2 separate regions of the Homo sapiens genome follow, and region 1 is linked to region 2. The links are contacts of gene promoters, found by promoter capture Hi-C in blood cells and fetal thymus (Javierre and others, 2016). All regions are on one chromosome and are shown on one strand. Each heading gives the region's core, a stretch centred on a gene start or on the middle of the fragment in contact. The rest is flanking DNA. Distances are from core to core; before and after follow the strand shown.

Region 1 (5,270 bases), core at 2,022-4,521, 570 kb before region 2:
AGTTTCTGACATACAAAAACAGCAGCTTTGTCTGCTTCAAACTGAGAGAAGTCACTGAGCCCGTCCTCGGTGTTTGGGGACTTTCCTCCAGTGTCCTGTCAGTATGAATGTTCTGACTGTTAGTAAATACAAAGATTATACTCACATGATTTCAGGGTGAAAGTCTTTTATTTTTTAAAGTGGAAAGTTGAGACTCCCAATGATAAAAATGAAATGTAGGGACTCATTTTAATAATTATTTTGGCCTTGTTAAGATTACTAAAAATAAATGATATTTCAGTTCTCTCTGTTTATATCATGTTATATTCCATAGCTGTCTCTATGGGGGTGAAAAAATTACATACATTATTTCTTTGTCAATAAGTGAAAAAATTTTTTTGTGCTTTGGGGGACAGGGTCTCACTCTGTCACGCAGGCTGGGGTGCAGAGGCATGATCATGGCTCACTGTAGCCTCAACCTCCTGGGCTCAAGCAGTCCTCCTACCTCAGCCTCCCAATTAGCTGGAACTACAGGTACACACCACCATGCCTGGCTAATGTTTTTTTTGTAGAGATGAGGTTTTGCCATGTTGTCCAAACTAATCTTGAACTCCTGAGCGCAAGTGATCTGCCTGCCTTGGTCTCCCAAAGTGCTGGGATTACAGGCGTGATCCACTGCGCCCAACCGATGAAAATATTTTAGTCACTAATCTATTCCTTTTTCACGGAACTGAATCTAGTGTGCTAAATTAAAGAACTATTTGAACTTTCAGTGGCATATTAAATTCAGTAGCCACATTGTGTTTTATTTAAACTCAGCTTATCTTGTCATATCATTCTTGTCTCCCAATTTTATCACAAAAAATAAAATAATGAACTAATATATTTTCTTCTGTCTTTCTCTGCCTCAAACCCTTCCCTAATCTGAATGATGGTAGAAAAAAAGGCCAGGATGAAGACAGTGAGGAGTTGTGGTGGCGAATCATGTGCTCTGCTTTAAATCTTTTTTTAAAAGTTGTTATTTTATTTTCAGACTCCCAGGGAAGCAGATGAGAGTGCATGGTTTGTCAGCCCATGTCTCCCCCACAGTTGTATCTGTACAGCCTAATCCAAGGAAGTAGTTTTGAATGTGACCTGTTATTTACTTCACTGTTTAGAAAATGTGTCACAGGGAGGAGGGTGAGTGTGAGGAAGCAGATTTGTAAAGTTTTCTTTATTGTTTTCTCTGAAATAGATCGTTTGTACTTCCCTTTTAAATGCTTTTTTAAAAAATGATTTTTCTTTTAATAGGTGATTATAGAGCAGTTTGTTGAATCTCATCCCAATGGCCTTCAGGTCATGTATAATAAACTCCTGGAGTTTGTTCCTCACCATTGCCGCCTTCTTCGAGAAGTCACAGGAGGTGCCATCTCCAGGTAATTTAAACAACCCTGTGTGGACCCCCACCTCCCTTTCAGTGACCGCACCTGCTAATTGCAGGTGCACGATGGACGATGACTGTCTTGTATGAACTGTCTTGTATGAATCCATTATGAATCTTGTTATTTCATTGTTTCTACTGGTGATACTGTGAGGCAGATTCCATTAGCCTCATTTCAAAGTTGTGGAAACTGAGATGAAGCTGAGACTGAAGACCACATTTCCGAATCCAAAGCCTAGCCTTTCTTCTTCTCTGCACTTTTTCCTAAATTTAGTTTGAAGTCAGAATTGCTTTCCTTCCATGATTCTAATATGTCATAATCTGTCTATAAATATTAATTCAGTTTATTTCAACAGGTTTTATACTAATTGTGAACTCATCTTCAATTTTTCCTCCTTTTGTTCAGTTTCCATGACTTCCTGATTCTCTTTCATAAATATCCCATTACTTTTCACCATTGCCATTGTCCCAGTCCAGGCCTTGTCATCTGCTGTCCACAATAATAGAATCTTCCCACCCTGTCTCCCTGCTTCCAGTCTCTCCCTCTCTAGTCTAGGCTTCTGACTGTCACATTTACCCAGAAATCTGAGATTCATAGATTTCTTCATGAATCTTTAGTGGCTTCTCAGTGCGCATGGAGGAAGATCCAGGCTTCTCGAAGCAGGGCATGAGGCCCTTTTTGTTCTTGCCTGGTAGCTCTCCACTGTAGAAACTTTCCCTCCATAGCCCTGGATGCTCCAGCCACACAGTGCTAGCTGCCTTTCCCCAGCTCCCTTGTACTCACGTGCTTCTGCGTTTTTCCTCTGCCTGCCCTCCCCTTCCTGTGCCCTTTGTTTTCCTGTCAAACTGCCTCTCCACATGAAGCTCCAGCTCAGATACCACCTCCTTCAAGAGACCATCCTTGACCGGGCGTAGTGGCTCACACCTGTGATCCCAGCACTTTGGGAGGCCAAGGCAGGTGAATCGCTTGAGGCCAGGAGTTCAAGACCAGCCTGGGCAACATGACAAAACCCCATCTTAAAAAAAAAAAAAGGCCATTTTTTCTCCTAATGTTCAGCATTCATCATGTCCTCTGGATTGCAGGATGTGTTGCTCTTGGGTCTGCTGAGTACTGATTTCCATGTTGCATTATGATCACCTCTCCGCTGCTCACACCTTCCCCTGCCTCTTGACACAGTGTCTTAGAGCTAGCAGCTGCCCAGTTAGTGCTTGCAAAATGAAAGAATTAACTATGTTTAATGATCGAAAGGCAAATAAGGTCTCTGTTTTCATGGAGCAAGCAATGTATTTGGCCTTGAGTTTTTGTTCTTTGCAGAAATATGGGGTAATTAATATGCTGCTTGGCCTTTGCAGTACCCTCTCTGTTTCCTCTGTACCACCTAAGATGAAGTCTAGTTTTGCTACTTTTGTTTAGTAATCATAAGGATTTAGTTGGATTTGGGGATAAGAACATAGTAGAAATCATGATGTAAAATGAAGCCATAGATATGAAACAATCAGCCATTAGATTTGACAGGGCCAGTCTGGGTCCAGAGATGTCAAGCTTCAAAGCTTTAGTGGATCTTTTCCACAGTTTTTAGTGTGGGGGAATTCATGTAGAAGGCTTAGAGATTTGAGGAATCTGAACTGTACCTTGCGAGATCATCATCTGCCGCTAGCCTGTCACTGTGTTGCAGGTTCTGCATATCCCTTTCCTTCCCTTGCTCGGCTCCTGGCTTCAGATTTCCAGCTTGGTGCTCCCCTTGTCACTCCTTTCTTTTATCATGTGCCACCCTTCATGAGCTTTATAACTGGCAACACCAACAACATTCGTGATTTCTCCTCCAGAGAATACAGATGAGCTTTTCTAATCCATCAACTGTTAATCTTGCAGGTTTTACATTCTCTCTTTGGGGATTTGATTAGACATTAACTTTGGGAATGAGGAAATGTTGTCATTTAATAGTGATTACATTATGTATATCTGTAGTTTGGAGTCCTCAATTTTGTGCTTTCTTTCTCTAGATACCTTAACAGAGCCTGCTCTTCCTATTATTTGGAAGTGTATAATATGATGTGTGGAATTGGATATATGGGAGGCAGTCATCTTCTTTCCCCTTCCTGGCCCTCCTCCACCCCCACCAGTAATTTCCTAACAATACTTAGGTGAAACTATAATAACATTATTTGCTAGCTCTTCCTGGACAGTGAAGCAAAGCTTCCTTGATAACTTATCTGTCTTGATAATTTTTGTTAAGCAGGAAAATTATGAAAACTTTAAAAAAATTTATTTTAATACTTACCAGAATGTTAAGTCCCGTTTTGACATGGCAACTTAGCTACAAAACTCCCAGTTTTGCTAAAATAGAACATTTATTAAATTGTTTGCCATTTTAAAAAATTACCTTGAAATAGAGCAGAATACCCAATATGAAACAAAGTGGGCAGATTAGTGAAATGGTGTTTGCCTAGAATGGATGTTTATGGATCTTTGAGTTTGTGAGCGACTTAAGGAATCTCCGTTATTTAACCGTTACTAACATAGGGCTTTTACTATATGTTAGGCACTATCCTAAGTACTTTACAAATATTAATTCTTATAATGACTTTGTGAAGTTGGTACTATGATCATCACCATTTTAAAGATGAAGAAACCAAGCACAGAGAAGTTAAATGATTTGCCCGCCCTCCAATATCTGAATCAGGCACACCAGCTCCAAAGCGCATGCTTTCTGTCAGTGCTGCCTGTCATCTACATTTGGGAATTTGGAATTTAAAAGTCTGGTGCTAAAAAAAGACAAAACAAGACAGGCACACACACAAAATAAAACATTAATCTGTTAACAGGTTTTTGTGTCAAGATTTGTGATAAGATTTCACATTTGATAGTCATAGAATTTTAGAACTGAAAGTAATCTTAGAGATAGCTTAGTAAATACAAAGCTGTTAGTAATTTATAAATTAGCATAACTTACAATGCTGTGTGGTTTAGTGGTGTTCAGTAATGTGAAGGTTATTTTTCCTGTGGTATTAGACTACTGTACTTTTTGTTTCCAAGATAGGAGTATAAAGGGGTTGGGAAGTATTTTAGAGGGAAAAGTGTACCAAGGTGATTTTATGTGGCTTCCCTTAGCCTTGACACCAGCTGGAGGAGTCAGGATCTAGGAGATTTGCCAGGTTTGAGGTGAGACTGAAATTAAGGAGTGAAATAGAAACTTGAGTCTGGAAACAAACTAAATTACAAATACGGTTTTTTTAAAAAGTTGAAATAAGTTTTAGACTGCGGATCTTTTGGCAGAAGCAACACAGTGGAAATTTGCTCTTTGTAAGTAGATTATGGTATATTTTACTGATATGTGCCCTTATTTTACAGTGAAAAAGGCAATACTGTTCCTGGATATGACTTTTTGGTGAATTCTGTTTGGCCACAAATAGTACAAGGATTAGAAGAAAAGTTACCCTCGCTTTTTAATCCTGGGAATCCCGATGCATTTCATGAGGTATCTCCCCGCCCGTCGTCTTGATTCTTGAAGATGTTAACCGGAGACTGGAGAAATATCATGTTCTCTTCTACTTAGTCTTGGTTCTGTGGTTTATTAAAAATAAAAATTTGAGTTGCTAAGTGAACATTTAACCTTAAAACACACACATCGTTTTATCCAAGATATGATGTATGATACTTTTAGGAATAAGAACATTTTCATTTTATAATATAAAGTATAATTAAGGCTAGATACAAGTGTGAGTAGAAATGTACATTATTTTCTAACTTTCTTAAAAACATCCTGAGGACCATTAAAAGCCAGTGTTTTTGCAGTTTTCTGTGAAAAATTAAGTTTGTACATCTCTGCCATATAATTTTGAATGAAAACAGAAAGTATTCACTGAATGT
Region 2 (4,871 bases), core at 635-3,134:
TCTTTCAAATAAGTGTATTTGCAAAATGCAGAGAATCCAAAATGTAGTCATCTTTTCCTAGGTAACTATGTCTTTGACCCTTATTAGCACAATCACTTTAGTCTCCACTTTGGTTCCTACTCAAAGTGTCATCACAGCAATAGTCCCCAGGGCTGGTAATCCCAATTGGCTTTATACTAAAAATATCAGGCACTGCAGCCACTGTTTCTTTTTAACACTTTCTGGGTTACAGGAACATGGAATAGTCTTCCTATTTTCTTTCACAGTTAGGAATTAAGATGAACCTAAGACAACTGGCTCAATTTGAATGCCTTTGTTTTCTATTAATTCCTCTTTCTATATTTCACTTGTTGAAGCTCTGACCAGTCACCTGAAAGTTCTAACCAGAATCCTAGGCATCCTTACTCACATGTATTACAAATACCACAGAGCTCTCTAAATTACCAGCTGCTGATTTATGCTTGCTACTATTTGCTTAATCTTTTATACAATAAACATTTAAGAGCCAACTAAACTTTGGCATTAAGGATATAAAAATGAATAGACACATTCAATGCCTTCAGAGCTCCTACCATGATTTCCAGCCTGTGTTGACATGAACTATATTATTTTGCAGAATAGTCTTTTCCTCTAGATTTTAAACTTCTCAAGGTCAGAGACTAAGTCTTCTCTGTCCTCCAATATGTCCAAGGGCACAGAAATGCTAGTTAATACAAGCATGGGGTCTGGGGCTAGAATCAGAACCCAGGCTCTGCAAAAATTACCAGTCAGACAACCTGCATCAGGTTTCATGAACTTCTAGTACTTGTTTCTACATCTGCAATCATGGATTTATGACAGTGTCTATTTCATGAAGTTGAAAATTAAATGAGCAAATACACGAAAAGCATGTGCTATATGGCAAGTTCTCAACAGTTTTAACTATTATTCCTACTGTTTAGGTGAACTTAGAATTTTGAGCAGTCATTCCAAAATAAAAATAGCTTTTAAAATATCACGCTGTAAATTTAAGAAATGTGTGTTGTCCTGAAATCTAATGATTTTCTTTGGTGCATGTGCAAAGGGTGTCACCTTCTCCCGGGAAAGCTCTTCAGAGTATGAGGCACTGTCTTCCTACTGACATGCCATGCGACTTTAATAGGCTCTTTTATTTTCCTTTTCCCCCATCAAGACAAAGAACGGAGAGTAAAAGATCAGCGCACTTGTTTAAAAAAAAAAAAGTCGTGAAAAGGACAACTCGCCAAGGACTATGATGTCTCTGGAGAGGGACACACAAGGATGAAGCTGGTGTATTATCCAACAGGCCCGAGGCCCCAGAGCGAAATGACACCATCGCACCAGGGTCAGGCAGGTCTTGGGGGTGGCATGGGGAAAGGGGACTTCCCAGGGCTCAAGAAAACGTGGAAAAGCGGGCTACTTTTAAATCGGAAAGCCTTGGTGCTTCCTACAAGCAAGTAGGATGGTCCCCACACTTGGGGACGAGTTGGAAGGTTTGATGAATAACTCAGCAGAGCCCGGTCGAGGGGTGACTTCCGATGGAGAAATGTGTTCGCTACTGGAACCAGGTGGGACGAAGGGTGCTTGACATGCAAGAACCTTTAGCCTCAAAGCAGAGGCCAACCCAGGACGGGCAACACAGGAGACCCACGTTCCTCAAATCTGTTCTCCACGTGGGCTCCTGGGACCCCGCACTCACCAAAGTCGTAAAGGTTCTGGAGCAGAGCGTCAAGAAGTGTCGGAGAACTGGGAGGCGTGGAGGACCCCGGCCCTTGCTCCTGCGACATTGTGGGGTCAGCCGAGGAATCAACCCTCATTCTGCCGCGCTGCACCCCCGCTTCCGGGTTCCGCGACTGCGCGCATGCGCTGCAGGGCCCTGCGCGGCTTCCGTCCTGGCTGAGATGGCGGCGCCCGGGATCCTGTGTAGCGGCTGCAGAGGGTGCCGCCGCCCTAGGCGAAGTAGGGCCGTCCTGAGCGAAAGAACCGCCCCCAGCAGGAGCACCACCACGGCTTAGCAAAGAATCCCAGACCCCGCCCGGGAAGGCAGCCGCACCATGGAGTCTTCCAGTTCATCTAACTCTTATTTCTCCGTTGGCCCAACCAGTCCCAGCGCTGTCGTGCTCCTCTACTCGGTAGGCGCCCAGGGAAAAGAGGCCCAGAGCGGAGCCGCGCGAAATAGTACCCCTTTCTCCCAGTCCCTATTCCTCCGGCCCACCACCCTTGCCCAAAAGAGCTGGCCCCTAGGCTCCCGAGGAGGGGTTAGTTGGTTGGATTGGTTTCCAGGACAACAGTGTATCGCTGTGTGTCTGTGTGTGCATGCTTTTGGAAGTTTCTACGGATTATGGTTCCTTTGGTTCCTTTCCACTTTTTCCTTCTCTTTCTTTCTATCAGGCCCTGGGGCCTTCAGAAAGCTCCTGGACACGAGAATGAGGAATGAGAATTGGAGTCTCCCCATCTCTAGCGAGGGCATGTCGAGCTACCTTTTGGGCAAACCTGAGAAACTTGCGGGTTTGACCCGCCCTGAGATAGCCTGTGGCTCCGCACCCCGCCCTATGCTGCTGTTATATTCCTGGGAGTAGAGCACTTGGCTTGTATGTGGGAATAGAGTTTTAAACACTTCAGGAAAATTTAGAACTTCTAGACATTTTTATTGCCTGTTCTTGTCTTCCAGTCATTATTGTACCTTTTCCACAAATCATTTTGGAGGACAGCCAGCGCCACCCAGCTTCTCTCCCGCTTGTCTTTTTTTCCTCCAACCCCCTCTTCCTCTCTTGGTTTTAACGGGTCTTTTTGGCTGGCAGATGTTGGTCACCCACGATTTTCATGAAGAAATTATGAGATGGGAGCTTTATAGCCTTCAGGATTGCACAGACCTGGGGCAACTGGTTTGGTTTTTGTTTGTTTCTTGTTGTTTTTAACCACTAAATTAGTTTTTAGCTACTTTAGGAGAAAATGAAAGAATTCATTTTAAAAGCATATTAGCATATCCTGGTGATTACTGTCCAATTTTGGCTTAAATGTAGTGTTCATTTGTGCAGAAAGGTCAAAACAGGGATAACACAGCAGAGCAAGATAAACACCCCAGTTTTGAAAGAGAATATATGGGTTCCTTCAAATTGAGACACCAATATTCTTTGGAACATGGAGAAACTTCTGTTCCCTCTCTATCAAGACCTTTCGGTTTCTGATTGCTAACTGCCTATAAGCCTTATTATTTAGATATATCTCTTCATTGATCTTATCTTCCCCACAGTTCTGTGGTGGATATCAACTTTGTTTTCTGACTCTGCTACTCCAGAGCAGGCACGAAGGGAAGAGGGTTGCTGTGCAGATCCAGCTTTTAACATGTAGCTTTTTAAGCTCCCAACTGGTTTGTGAATTGGTTGGAATTTTCCTTTTGTACATTAAAGGAAGGAGTTGGTTTTGTTTGTTTGTTTGTTTGTTTTACTTCCCCTTTACCAACGGTTCTTTAATAAGACTTGAGTCCACTTTTTCATGTGAAAAACTATGGCAGTTGTATCTGAGCATTCTGTAGTTCTGATGCTGGACAGCAACCCACTCTTTACTGGTAGTTCTCACTACTGTTTTGTGACTGGATAACCTTTACTTCCACGGTAACCTTACTTTTTCTTAGTACTTCAGGCTGTTTTTATTTCCCCAGCTACGCTGTTATTGTGTAATATTCTGATCTAAAAGTAGCACTTTAGAAGCGTAGAAGATACTGCTGATTGCAGCAAACATTAGGAATATATACAGTATCCTACTCATTATTCTCAGTTTCCAAGATATAGAAGTTACAGATGCAGGCTCTGCCTTTAAGGGCACAAAAAGTCATAAAAGTAAACAAACAATCACAGTTAAGTATGGTAAGGGCAATGATTGAAGCATGCACAGCGTGTTGTGGGAGAGACAAGAAGGGGCACCTGACCAGTTTGGGAACTTGGAGAAGGTTTCTAAGAAAAGGTGATATCTAAGCTGATCTTCCTTTTTTGTTTTTGTTTTTGTTTTTGTTTTGTTTTGGAGACAGCCTTGCTCTGTTGCCAGGCTGGAGAACAGTGGCTCGATCTTGGTTCACTGCAACCTCCATCTCCGGGGCTCAAGCGATTCTCCTGCCTCAGCCTCCCGAGTAGCTGGGATTTTAGGCACACGCCACCCCGCCCTGCTAATGTTTGTATTTTTAGTAAAGACAAGGTCTCACCGTGTTGGCCAGGCCGGTCTTGAACTCCTGACCTCAAGTGATCTACTCACCTCCCAAAGTGCTGGAATTACAGGCATGAGCCACTGTGCCTGGCATGAGCTGAGTTTTTGAGCTGTGAATGGCAGATGAGGGAGAGGAAAACTGTCCTAGATGTTGATGTAAAAAAAACTACTCCCTTGCATATTTGGGGTTAGAATTAGTTAGATTTGGGTGGAAGAAAGGAGACATGAGAAACAAAGTAAGGAAGTAGGCAGATATTTCCTAAAGAAATTTTATGTGTCGTGTTTACATATCCTTAGGGATAAAATCTTAACTTTATGGGAGATTTTAATCTTACATCTATGTGTGTGTGTGTGTATACACATATATATATAAATATATGTGTGTATATGTATTTTTTTTTTGACATGGTGTCTCACTCTGTCACCCAGGCTGGAGTGTAATGGCACAATCTTGGCTCACTGCAACCTCCACCTCCAGGGTTCAAGAGATTCTCCTGTCTCAGCATCCCAAGTAGCTGGGATTACAGTTGCCTGCCACCACACCCGGCTAATTTTTGTATTTTTAGTAGAGTCGGGGTTTCACCATGTCGGCCAGGCTGGTGTCGAACTCCCGGTCTCAAGTGATCCACCTGCCTTGGCCTTCCAAAGTACATTTATATTTTTGAAAGTCTGAG

The links. The method cuts DNA at HindIII sites, captures the fragments that hold promoters and counts their contacts. A CHiCAGO score of 5 or more calls a contact.
Region 1: a contact is called between a fragment that was not itself captured here and the fragment with the promoter of GNPAT in region 2, in 1 of 17 cell types (total B cells). The highest score is 5.4, in total B cells.

Annotation. Positions count from the first base shown.
Region 1 is chr1:230,670,247-230,675,516 of GRCh38, forward strand. It overlaps COG2 (component of oligomeric golgi complex 2), which reads left to right. Exons shown (of 18, transcript NM_007357.3): 8 at 1,270-1,394; 9 at 4,752-4,878. LOC107985358 (a long non-coding RNA gene) reads right to left here. Exons shown (of 2, transcript XR_001738517.1): 2 at 4,699-4,964. Among named protein-coding and RNA genes, the nearest start is that of COG2, 30 kb to the left of the region's middle. The HindIII fragment of the contact is 646 bases long and covers 2,949-3,594 here.
Region 2 is chr1:231,239,328-231,244,198 of GRCh38, forward strand. GNPAT (glyceronephosphate O-acyltransferase) reads left to right here and starts at 1,885. Exons shown (of 16, transcript NM_014236.4): 1 at 1,885-2,129. The coding sequence starts at 2,052. FSAF1 (40S small subunit processome assembly factor 1) reads right to left here and starts at 1,848. Exons shown (of 7, transcript NM_152379.4): 1 at 1,697-1,848. The coding sequence starts at 1,814. RefSeq lists enhancers at 1,578-1,917, 1,898-2,787. The HindIII fragment of the contact is 8,993 bases long and covers 1-4,871 here.